Regions from separate parts of the Homo sapiens genome. Here regions 1 and 2 are each linked to region 3. Evidence: promoter capture Hi-C in 16 types of primary human blood cells and fetal thymus (Javierre and others, 2016). All regions are on one chromosome and are shown on one strand. Each heading gives the region's core, a stretch centred on a gene start or on the middle of the fragment in contact. The rest is flanking DNA. Distances are from core to core; before and after follow the strand shown. Region 1 has its middle 26 kb from the start of C9orf72. Region 2 has its middle 81 kb from the start of C9orf72. Region 3 holds the start of TOPORS (TOP1 binding arginine/serine rich protein, E3 ubiquitin ligase).

Region 1 (4,032 bases), core at 1,127-3,626, 5.0 Mb after region 3:
TCCCATCAGCACTATATCTGTATCCTGAGTGACTTCACAATACCCTCTATTTCAAGAGAAACCAATCAGGTTATGGGTTTGTTAGTAATAAAAATTACCAAGGAGCAGTTTGTGGATGGTAAAAGCAATGCAAATTCTAAAGAGAAGTCATAAGAGCAATAATAAGCATCCTCCTCACTTCTTGGAAGTGAACAATTCCAAGCTCCCTGAAGCAACACTTAACCTATCATATTAAACAGTAATGGACAAATATTAGAAATGTTGATGTCAGCTTTCAGAATCTGTGGGCATCAAAACATCACTTAAGTTCTCCGAAGTATTCTCTGTCAAGTTTCCTTCTACAGTATTCTTTTCCTACTAGGACAGAGCCTTAAGCCCTAGAAGAATAATTTTGCTTGTGTGTTAATTATTTGTTTACTGGTTCATTCCAGAGTGTGAGCTGGAAAAAGGGGGAAGTGTCATAAATAGTTTTTTATGGCCCATGGTTTTTCAACTACGTCACTATTGGTAGCAGTTTCCACTGCAGGATCTATTTGCAAAGCCTAGGAAATTAGCATTAAGCAAGCTGCTAGGAAGACTTCAACAGTAACTAGGCCACAGGCCTCACACATTTTTCCTCCACCCCAGCCTCCTCTGGAGAGTACTTGCTAAACCTCTGTGACACATAATGAAGCAAAGAAAGTGATAGAACAACAGAATTACACGGGCAGATCCTTGTTTCTTCTTCTCTCTCTAAAGAATTCCTTGGACTGAAAAGCAGTTTATTTTGGAGGAGTGAGAAAGTGGTGACAGAATTAGAAGGGCCTGGGAGGGCTTCATTTTAGGAGACAGTTTTAGGCTGAAAAGAGATTTCATGAGTGTGATTTACCTGAGGTGACTTTTGGGGGCTCTTATAAAAAGGAAGTTCATGCTGAATGGGAGGTGGCTTCTGAGATGCAGATTCTGGTGAGCTAAGAGGGCTCGGTAAAGAGGAGGCAGGAGTTAAGTAGCGTGAACTATGCAGTAGCAGCCTTCTTCCCCCCTTGCTTGGGGCAGGTCATCACAACCCTTCTCAATAAAGGGGTCCAGGAACCACTAGGAATAAATGGGCATTTGCACTTCAGGTGAAACCCATTTGTCATAACTGCTTGGACTTTAAGCTTACAAATAAAAAGAACCACATATTTCCCTTTGCAGCTTGATTTAGTTAATGTCATTTTGAGAAAGAAAGAAGACATTGTTATCCCGTCCCTTTTTTTTTTTTTTTTTTTTTTTTATGAAGAGACTGGGACTCAGAGAAGTCAAGTGATTTTCCCAGAACCAGAAAACACAGAAGTAGCAGAGCTGAGATGACTACTCCGGTCTTCTGATTCCAAATTCCAAATTCATTCTTCTAAGCGATTTCCCAAAACGGGAAATGGGTTTATCTTCTATTTATGGGAAGTGATAGTGGTATTCTATTTAGAGAACTTATATAAAATCTTACTTTAAAATAAATAATATTTCAAAAAGTAAGCTTAATTTAAAGAAAATAATCAAGAAAGTCTGGTATATTTTTACAAATATACCAAATGACCTTGCTCTAAAATACATCTACTTTCCAGCAAGCCAAAGTGAAACAATTTGAAATAAGTGGCATTTACTGACCACTCCCTAAAGTTCACACAAAAGAGGTAGTACTCTAACTTAAATATACAAGGTGAAGAAATAGCTTACTCAGCCTGTTGGGCTTCCTCTTCTACACTCTTGGGAAATGCCCTCCGTGTTAACCAAGAATTCTCAGGCCTTGGAGGGAGTTTTCCATTCTCAGTAAACTGAGATTGCAGTTGCGGAAATTAAGAGGTATCTGTCCAGCACTTCATTCCCTTAAGGTCAGGATCTGTGCTTTTAATAATGACAATTAGCTAACATATACAATTAAGCCATGCAAATGAAGTAAGAGAAAGCTAGAGGAGAAATTCAGGAGCCAGTTGCCTTTTCCAGACATCTTGTACAAATAGTGTTCAAAGGACTAATTCAAAAGATGGGATTCTTCGCTTGAACCCAGGAGGTGGAGTTTGCAGTGAGCGGAGATCGCTCCACTGCACTCCAGCCTGGGTGACAAAGTGAGACCCCATCCAAAAAAAAAAAAAAAAAAAAAAAAAAAAGATGGGATTCTTTTTTAAAAAATAAATTTTACTGCGTATTTTTAAGGTATACAACGTGATGTTATAAGATGGATATAGATAGTGAAAAGGTAACTGTAGTGAAGCAAATTAACATATTCATCATCTCACATAGTTATCTTTTATTTGTTTTGTTTTGATGGGATTTTTAAGATAGTAGAAAGGAATGGTAGACAATAAACATTTGAGGGAAAGTGGGGCTTTGTAGAACTCCTAAAATGACAGCACGCACAAATGTCCCCATTATGTCTAAAGGGTAACTCGTTCCTACTTCTAGGGACAGCTGAGGGACATCAATGTAAATTTCTAAATGACTTCCTGAACTTTTTATTTTTATTTTTTGTATTTTTAGAGGAAATTATAATAACATCAAGCCACCTCTGGACCATATCGCTGCTGATATCATCAGCAAATGGCACTATTCCTAAATCCTAAGATGCACTTTTCCCTTCACATTTCAACATTTGTGAAACTCGATTGTACCTACACCTGATTTTATATACAATGCAGCCTTTCCTTTTCTTTTGTCATTGCATCTTACGCCTGATTTCTCCTTGGAATTGAGTAAATATAATGCTTACATGTGTTAATAAGAATTGAGGTCACTCATAATTTTTGAAATATGCCACCAAATATAAGCCTTTCTACATATTGTTGACTTTGAAGTCATTTCTTTTTTTAACTACTAAACAATAACACTTTTTGTTGAGAAAAATTGCATATGAACAAGAGACCAAGCAGGTAGAGAGAAAAAAACTTTTAATAATCAAGAGAATGTTACTGTGTCCCAAAGGCTAAAGTCACCTTACTATCAAGAGAGAAGGACAGGAACAGAGAGAACCAGGTAAATTACGAATTGAAAATTCCATGGTTCATTTATCTTTATTTTTAATAATTCCATTTGTGTGATTGTGTTGACCACAAGGTCATAATGTTACTCTTCATACTGACTTCTCATGTAAATTATAAATAAGTTTTTATGCTAATGATTTATGGAGTAAGCTATTCATCTTTCCGACAGAGAGTTACCTACAAAGAAATAATTATTCTACCTCTGAGATGAAATATCATGAAAGGAGTGGTTTCCAGATATTTTGACTTTTAAAAGCTTAAAGAATATATGTAGTATAAAATTCTAAAGCAGGCAAAATTAATCCTTTTAGCAATCAAGATAGCGGCTACTTTTGGTGAGAAGGACAAGGTAGTGATAGAGAAGGGGCTCAGGGGTCTTTCCTGAAGACAGTGAGGTGGGCAATGGTATTTTCCTTGACCTGGATGGTGATTAAACAGATGTGTTTACTTTGTGATAATTGACTAGGCTGTGCACCTATGAACTGCATACTTTTCCATATATGTACTGTATTCTTATACTTAAAAAGAAGTTTAAAAATAAATGCAACAGATATAGGACTTCCTATATTACTCGTTGACCAAAAAAATGGATTCATTTTTCTTTCAGGTAAAACGTACTAGTGGTTTTAATATTATATTGACCAGGGAGTAAATGTTTACCTTAGGAACCTTAATCTTGATGTTCTCCAAAGTCATTATCTGTTCTTTCTGATTATCAGAATAGAGTATATCTCTATATAAATGAAAATTTCTGGTCATTCTCAAAAAATAACACTAAGCATGAAAATCAGAAATATTGATCTTGTTTTGTAATGATGTTTCTATTGATGTGAAGTAGTTTCTAGTAGAGTTGCTGTCCTAACACACAAATGAAATTGCACTGTTTGGAAGACACAACTGTGAATGACTTGCTTCAGTAAGGAATTTCCAACATGATGGTTTAGGGATAGAGGTGCTCGATTCCTCTGTCTCCGGTTACCCAGGTTATTGAGGACAGGGAGGTCAATAAGTAATGCCCTCCTCCCACCCATAGCAC
Region 2 (4,004 bases), core at 1,125-3,624, 4.9 Mb after region 3:
AGGAACAATTTCTGGACATCTTGACATGGAAAGATTCTTTTTTTTTTTTTTGAGACGGAGTCTTGCTCAGTCGCCCAGGCTGGAGTGCAGTGGCGCCATCTCGGCTCACTGCAAGCTCCGCCTCCCGGGTTCACGCCATTCTCCTGCCTTCCCGAGTAGCTGGGAGTACAGGTGCCCGGCACCATGCCTGGCTAATTTTTTTATTTTTTTAGTAGAGATGGGGTTTCACCATGTTAGCCAGGATGGTCTCGATCTCCTGACCTCACGATCCGCCTGCCTCGGCCTCCCAAAGTGCTGGGATTACAGGCGTGAGCCACCATGCCCGGCCGGAAAGATTCTTTAACCTAACACCCAACATAATGTGCTCTTAAAAAACAAAGAAAAACCCTATGTCTGCTTTCTTCTTGTGAAAAAGTAATACATCCCTAACAGTTTTCACCCTTTAGAGTTTCTAAAGAACCCAAGGAAAAGTGACATGTTCGTATTCTAAAAGATGAAAAGGACTTAAAGACAGATGGTTTTGAAATTGGTTCTGTTCTCAGCATTTCACTCTGGTATTTATTTAAAAGGCGTTTCAGCCTACTTCTTCTGTATTCATCTTGCTCCATATACCTAACCACTCCTTTCTACCCAATTCACAGGCTGATGATCCTGACACTGTCTCTCTGTCTCCAGCTCTCTTCTTTATGACCTTTACCACAGAGAATACTTCCCTTTTTCCATATATAAACTAAGCTCCCAGTTTCCTGAAATATAGGCAACACTACAAAAGACATTGCAGCATATCTGGAGTACTGAAACAGGAAAAGTTCCCTTGCCCCCTTCACAGGGTGTGCGATGGGGGTGTGGCTAGCTTCTTCAGTACCCCACTGCTCAAACTTTTAGGGGAGCACACAGGCAGGCAGGCTGTGGGGCTCTGACCCCACAGCAGTGTCTGGGAGTGAATGTTTACAGCTGAAGCTCCAGTGGGCATATGTTACAAGGTGCTCTTTTAGTTTAGCCATCCCGCTGCTTGTGTTAGTAAGCTCAATTAGACCCACGCGTTGTCGTAAGGACGGAGGGCTTTCTGTATCCTGGGGTTCTTGCCTTGGTGTACCGGAAGAATCGGATCACACATGGGCTTTGAGAATAAATGCAAGCTTTTATTGAATGGAAGTAGCACTTAGCAGATGAGAGAGCCAGAAGGGAGATGGTTTTCCCCTGGAGTCAGGCTGCACAGTAGCCTGGGCTCTCCTCCAACTGCCCCTGCCAAACTCTGCCTCATTCCGCTGGTCGATGGCCTGATGGCCTGTTGGCGTGCCAGTGTCTGTCATGTGCTCTTCCACCAGCATGCTCCCCTCTACATCCTCTCAACGTCCAGCCATTTGTGTCTTCTTCCACCAAGGTGTTCCTCTCAACGTCCAGCTGCTTGTGTGTCTGCCTGCTAGTCGCGGTTTTTATAGGATGGGGGCGTGGCGGGCCAGGGCGGTGCTGGGAAATGCAGCATTTGGGCGTGAAGGTAGAAGTGCCTGTCCTCACCTAGGTCCGTGGGCACAGGCCCAGGGGTGCAGCCCTCGCCGGGGCCCTGCCCTTCTCCTCCCAGCACTTCCTTGCTCCCCTTCCATATCACTACTGCCAGAGTATAAGAAGTTAAACACCAACTAAGATAAAAAGAAAGACTATGGCTCCTTTCTGCAGAAGAACTTTGATCAAATGTTTGTATTACAAATAAGGAGGTATTTATTTGAGGCTAAAATAGACCTAATTCTAAAATAAATAAAATAAAGCAAACATAAGAGAAATTTTAAATAAAAACCTTTACTCAGCAATTCTACCTTTGTTTAGTCAAGAGAAGTAAAATGCATGTCCATACAACTATTTGTGCAAGAATATTTATAAAAGCTTTGTTCATAATAGCACCATACTGGAGACAGTCTAAAAGTGCATTAGTAACAGAATACATAAACAGATTGCAGTATATCCACATAGTGAATATGTTCAACAATAAAAAGGAATGAAGTACTGATATATGCAATAGAATATATGAATATCCATAATGTTATGCTGAAATAAAGAAACCAAACACAAAAGAGTGCGTACTATATGATTCCATTTATATGAAATTCTAGAGAAAAGCAAAACTAATCTATGGTAACAGAAAGCAGACCAGCAGTTGACTGAGGCCAGGGATGGGGGTGATGGGGGAGATGACTACAAAGAGGCATGAGGCAATTTCTTGGGGTCATGGAAAGGTCTTGATTGAGATAGTGTTCCCATAGTCATATACATTTGCAGAATGTCATCAAAATGAACCTTTTAAATAGGTACATTTTACTGCACGTTAATTATACATTAAAGTCGACTTAAAAGCAAAACATCCTAAAGCTGGGCCTTTCCCAATTCTTATTACTGTAAAGACATAATTGACTTTAAGTGACATTGTTATTTACATAAATGTTAAAAATATTTTTATTTAACATAGATTCTTCATGCAGATACATTAATTTTCTTAGTCATAATTTAATGGAATTTAATAATTCATGATATTCATATGTCAGAGTGGTACAGTCATGTGTTACTTAATGATGGGGATACATTCTGAAAAATGTGTTATAGGTGATTTCATATTTGTGTAAACATCGTAGAGTGAACTTACATAAACCTAGAGGGTATAGCCTGCTACATACCTAGGCTATAGCATAGCCTATTGCTCCTAGACTACAAACTGGTACAGCATGTTACTGTACTGAATACTGCAGGCAGTTAAAATGATGAAAAGTATTTGTGTATCTAAACCTATTTAACATAGAAAAGGTACAATAAAAGTACTGGTATAAAAGATTTAAAATGGTACGCCTGTTCAGGGCACTTACCATAAATTAAGCTTGCAGGACTGTAAGTTACTCTGGGTGAGTCAGTGAGTGAGTGGTGAGTGAATGTGAAAGCCTAGAACTTTACTACACACTACTGTGGACTTTATAAACACTGTACACTTAGGCTACATTAAATTTATAAAAAGCTACTTTCTTCCTTCAATAATTAATTAGTCTTAGCTTGCTGTAACTTTTTAAATTTATAAGTTTGTTAGTTTTTTAACTTTTTGACTCATTTGTGATAACACTTAGCTTGAAACACAAACACATTGCACAACTATACAAAAATGTTTTCTTTCTTTATAGCCTTATTCTATAAGCTTTCTTCTGTTTTTATTTTTTTTTACTTGTTAAGCATTTTTGTTTAAAAAATAAGATACAAACACATTACCCTGGGCCTACACAGGTTCAAGATCATCAATATTACTGTCTTCCACATCCACATCTTGTCCCACTGGAAAGTCTGAAGTGCAGTAACATACATGGGGCTGTCACCTCCTATTATAACAATGCCTTCTTCTGGAATACTTTTTGAAGGACCTGCCTGTGGCTGTTTTATTGTTAACTTTATTTTTATAAGTAGAATGAGTACACTCTAAGGTGACAATAAAAAGTACAGTGTAGTAAATACATAAACCAGTAACATAGTCATTTATTATCATTATCAAGTATTATGTACTGTGCATAATTTTATGTACTATACTGTTATATGACTGACAGCACAATAGGCTTGTTTACACCAGCATCACCACAAACACATGGGTAATGTATTGCACTATGAGGTTAAGACAGCTATGATGTCAGCAGGAATTCTTCTGCTCCATTATTATAATCTACGAGTATTATAATCTACGAGACCAACATCACATGTGCAGTCTGTCATTGACCAAAACATTATTACAGAGCTCATGACTGTCTTAGGAAAACATGTACTAACCATCCGCATCTTTGTTTTTTTTTTTAAGAGTTGGGAGTCTCACTATGTTGCCCAGGCTGGTCTTGAACACCTGGCCTCAAGCAATCCCCCGGTTTCAACCTCCCAAAGCATTGGGATTAAAGGCATGAGCCACTGCACCTGGCCGTATCCTCATCTTTATAGAACAAAAAGTCCATCATTCTTACATAGTACTCAGGCAAGAAGGATAAAAGTTT
Region 3 (3,934 bases), core at 1,182-3,681:
CACTTTTTGCCTGAGCTCATGCTTCTTAAAGTACATTCCCAAGGCATCCAAGGATCCCAAGGATCCAAACACATACTATAACTTTTTTTCCCAGCTACTTCTTCTAGAACCTCAAGTTCATTAGGCAGTCAGCTTCCAAGTTATAGGAGATATTTTGCTAAATAGTTTGCCACTGCCTTTTGTTTCCATCTTTATCTTTGCTACCAGACTGCTAAGCCAGTGCCCTATAGCTTGATTTTTATTACAGCAGCATTAGTGCCACTTCAAGGCAATGATTTCTATTGGGATAATGCTAGCTGTACTAACAAATTGTTGCCCAAATGTATAATGGCATAAACATATTTATTTTTTCATTGGACTATAATCCTGAGCAGTACCAGGTCAGGGAATGGCAGGGATTGGGGTGGGTATGGGGACAATTCTACTCTTCCCAGTCATTCAGGGACTGGCAGGCTAACAGAATCTATCTTAAACACATGGCTGAAACTGAAATTGAATAATCTGTCTTAAAACTATACAGCTTGTCAGTGGAGGTTCCAAGATTCTTACCACTTGGTTCTGGCTTCAATGCCCATGCCTTTTTGCCCACATCTATATCAAGAATTGAAAAGACATCTGGACCAGCTGCCTAGCCAAAGTTTGTATTCTGTATTCAGTATGTAAGCCAATCAGAAAACTGGTGATTGCGTAACACATTCAGTTGCTGGGGGTACATTACCTCCTTATCTGGAACTGCAGATGTTTCCTTGCAACTTCTTTCTGGGGCCTCCATTTATTGGGGTCATACAAAATAAAAGATTATCCCTTTATCACTTAGAGAACACAATTTTCGTGCCCTTTTTGATTATTTTGTTTCTGAGTGAAAATTTCCCTATTATTTCACTATACCTTAAAATTTTGAATACTGATTGTTCAGATTTAGTCAGCTTCTACTTTGTCTAGGGTCCTTTTAAAGGGAATGCCAGAACTCAAGTACATTTTCCATGTGAGATCTGATGAACATAGAACAGAATAGAACTATCACCTCTGTAGACTTAAGATTTTTGTACTAACTGTATCTTTGTTTTCCTAGGGTGATACAATTCTGGAGACTGGAGAAGTAATTCCACCAATGAAAGAATTTCCTGATCAACATCATTAAAGATTATGTAAAAAGTTAAAAGGCTTATGAGCCTAAGTTTGTTCCTATATTACCATATTTACTGAATTTTCTGGAAAAGTAACTTTAATAAAGTTTAATCTCAGAAATTGTCATATCTGTTTTCAAGCATTGTACAATTTGAGACTGAGTAATTTAACAATAAGTAAAAAGTGGACATGCTAAACAAATATGAGAGACTACCTACTTTTTCTGGTCATTCTTGACTTGGAAAACGGTATGGAAAAGTATTTAGTTACATGTTTGTTTGTTTTTTTCTTACACAGTACTTACACTAATTTGGTATCAGGGTATGCAACAGTGAAATATCACAATAAACAAATGTAAGAACAGCAATTCCATGCACTTTTGTTTTAAGGAAATCTTTCCGGCCAGGCGCAGTGGCTCATGCCTGTAATCCCAGCACTTTGGGAGGCCGAGGCGGGCAGATCACGAAGTCAGGAGATCGAGACCATCATGGCTAACACAGTGAAACCCCGTCCCTACTAAAAATACAAAAAAATTAGCCGGGCGTGGTGGCGGGCTCCTGTAGTCCCAGCTACTGCGGAGGCTGAGGCACGAGATTGGTGTGAACCCAGAAGGCGGAGCTTGCAGTAAGCCGAGATAGTGCCACTGAGCCTGGGCGACAGAGCAAGACTCCGTCTCAAAAAAAAAAAAAGCTTTCCGAATCATTTTTGAAGAATTTAGAAACTTGATTGAAAAGCTTATTCCAACTATGATCTGACACTCAAGACTGTCAGATTTAGGTTGCTGTTAATTTTGTCATGAGAATGTAAAATACTAAAATCTCTAAGTGAAAAATTTGCATACTAGTGCTTGTTATAAAGGATAATGCAAAAATAAACTTGGGAACTTTGCATTATGAATTTTATTTTTATATCTACATAAGCATGAGGGAAAGAACTGTATTTTCAGATAATTAAATCCAGAAGAGTTACAAATTTTCATTCGTCCCAAAGATTTTGTCTGGGTATTTCTTCCTTAGCTGTCGTCTTGCAGACACCATCGAAGCATAGATGATGCAGCCCCAGGAGATTAAAACGATGGCAAGCAGCAACTAAACCAAAAATCGCAAAGGAGGTGTGAAATCTACCTGATATTTCCCCTCGCCCCCGTCAGGTTACCGTTGCCATTGCTAAGGTGGGAATTAAAGTAACAAAGTCGAATAAATGGGGTTCCAGTGGCGGGTACACCCAGCAGCCCTTACGTAAGAAGCGGAAGATCGTATCCTCCAGGAAGAGGCGGAGTCGAGGTGAGGGAGTGAAATGCTTAATTCAGGAATGGATTTTGGAGTTTCTGGGTGCTGAAGAAATAGGGCCTTTCCGCCTGCGGGCCCAGTGAGTCGACACGGTGGGGGCCCGCGATCCCCGGGACTTACCACTGAATAAATCCAGTCCAGCGTGCGACGACTTACTGGCTTCATGGTAAGGAGGCGGCAGCAGTCCGCGGGAGCTGGCGGGAGCTGCGGGCCTTACAGTAACCTCCCAGGCGGTGGCTGCCAGGCGCCAGCAGCCATCTTTTAGCCGGGCACGAGCGCCCGCCCACTCGCTTCGTGCAGCGCTGTCGCTGGCCTCTTCCGCCCGGAGTTGGGGGGCGGTATCACGTGATCGGGGGCCTTGCCCGCCTTTTAGAGAGGGGAATAAACGAGAAAATGTTAAAAATTGCTTTTTTTTTTTTTTTTTTGCCAACTAAGGAGATAGGCGTACCTCCACTGGTTTTCTTTCTAGTTGCAATGCAATATTAATGCAGGATAAGGTGCTGTCGTGTCCATTTAAAAGTTAATTTGAAAAACAATCCACGTTTTAAATATTACGTCTGGCTCTAAAGCTGGAAGAATTAACGCTTTCTCCCCCGCTCCCTCCCCCACGCCTCCCCGCATCTGATACCACACGATTTAGATGGACGTTCGCCTGTTCATCTTTGACGTAAAAATACCACCCACTCTTTTATATGTGACAAATCGTTGTGGGAACCCCTGTAAATCGAGCCATTCTTCAGAAACGTATAGCGTAATGTATATCTCTAAGAAGAAATACGTGGGACGCGTTACCCGCCATAATGTATCAGTCAAGCAACAAGTGTTTGTTGAGCGTGTCTGATGTTCTTGAACTGCCGCGCGTGAGATACTAAGCCCCGAGCACGGCAGTTTGGTGGGCGAGCGTACCAGGTTCAGCTCTAGAATGTTTGGGGCGCTCACATTTGAGGCCTGAGGAGTAGAATCTGGCAACGGGCCGCTTAGGCTCTAGACGTTCTTTATACCTCGCAGTTATCTTAAAAGAGTTTTAGTCTAGATTTCAGGGAGTGGGAAGGGGAAGAGCGGAGAAAAACGTGGTCTGTTTAGGGAGGAGTCCAGGCCCTGTTTTGTTAGGTTGTCCTGTTTCTCCCCAGCCTGGAGGGGATCCCTCTCTGAAGACTTTATAGGATACTGGTTGGGCTCTGGTTTGGGATCCCGTTGGACTCCTGGTGTTGCTTCCGGGAGGCGTACAACAGGAGGTGAGAGACTTCAAGTCCATCTAACAATTCCCCTATCTAGACACTAAAGATAATTTCCTAAGTTTCCGCAGAGTTTGGTAAGGTTGAAACGACATCGAACTAGTTCTCGTGTTTTCCGGGTAAGTTAGGGGCGAACATTCAGTCAGTGTCCCCAGTGGCTGAGTACCAGTAACAAGATGGGGAGGGTCGCGCTGCCCTCCTCCGGGGTCTGGAGCGGCGGGGGAGGGGCCGCATTTGGGCCGGTGCGCTGAGCCCCGCCCCCGAGGCCGGCGTCCATCTGCT

Evidence for each region. Contacts are between HindIII fragments. The CHiCAGO score rates a contact against its expected background, and 5 or more counts as called.
Region 1: a contact is called between a fragment that was not itself captured here and the fragment with the promoter of TOPORS in region 3, in 1 of 17 cell types (M2 macrophages). The highest score is 5.7, in M2 macrophages.
Region 2: a fragment that was not itself captured here is called in contact with the fragment with the promoter of TOPORS in region 3 in 1 of 17 cell types (M0 macrophages); the score reaches 7.2 in M0 macrophages.

The regions. Positions count from the first base shown.
Region 1 is chr9:27,596,975-27,601,006 of GRCh38, reverse strand. No RefSeq gene overlaps it. Among named protein-coding and RNA genes, the nearest start is that of C9orf72, 26 kb to the right of the region's middle. The HindIII fragment of the contact is 1,757 bases long and covers 1,498-3,254 here.
Region 2 is chr9:27,652,333-27,656,336 of GRCh38, reverse strand. No RefSeq gene overlaps it. Among named protein-coding and RNA genes, the nearest start is that of C9orf72, 81 kb to the right of the region's middle. The HindIII fragment of the contact is 982 bases long and covers 1,884-2,865 here.
Region 3 is chr9:32,551,083-32,555,016 of GRCh38, reverse strand. TOPORS (TOP1 binding arginine/serine rich protein, E3 ubiquitin ligase) reads left to right here and starts at 2,431. Exons shown (of 3, transcript NM_005802.5): 1 at 2,431-2,583. The coding sequence starts at 2,581. It overlaps SMIM27 (small integral membrane protein 27), which reads right to left and starts at 2,690. Exons shown (of 2, transcript NM_001387564.1): 1 at 2,538-2,690; 2 at 2,010-2,216. The coding sequence starts at 2,582. The coding sequence ends at 2,094. NDUFB6 (NADH:ubiquinone oxidoreductase subunit B6) reads left to right here. Exons shown (of 4, transcript NM_002493.5): 4 at 1,073-2,016. The coding sequence ends at 1,141. RefSeq lists enhancers at 1,943-2,656, 2,461-2,790, 2,801-3,010, 2,657-3,371 and a silencer at 3,651-3,870. The HindIII fragment of the contact is 29,085 bases long and covers 1,865-3,934 here.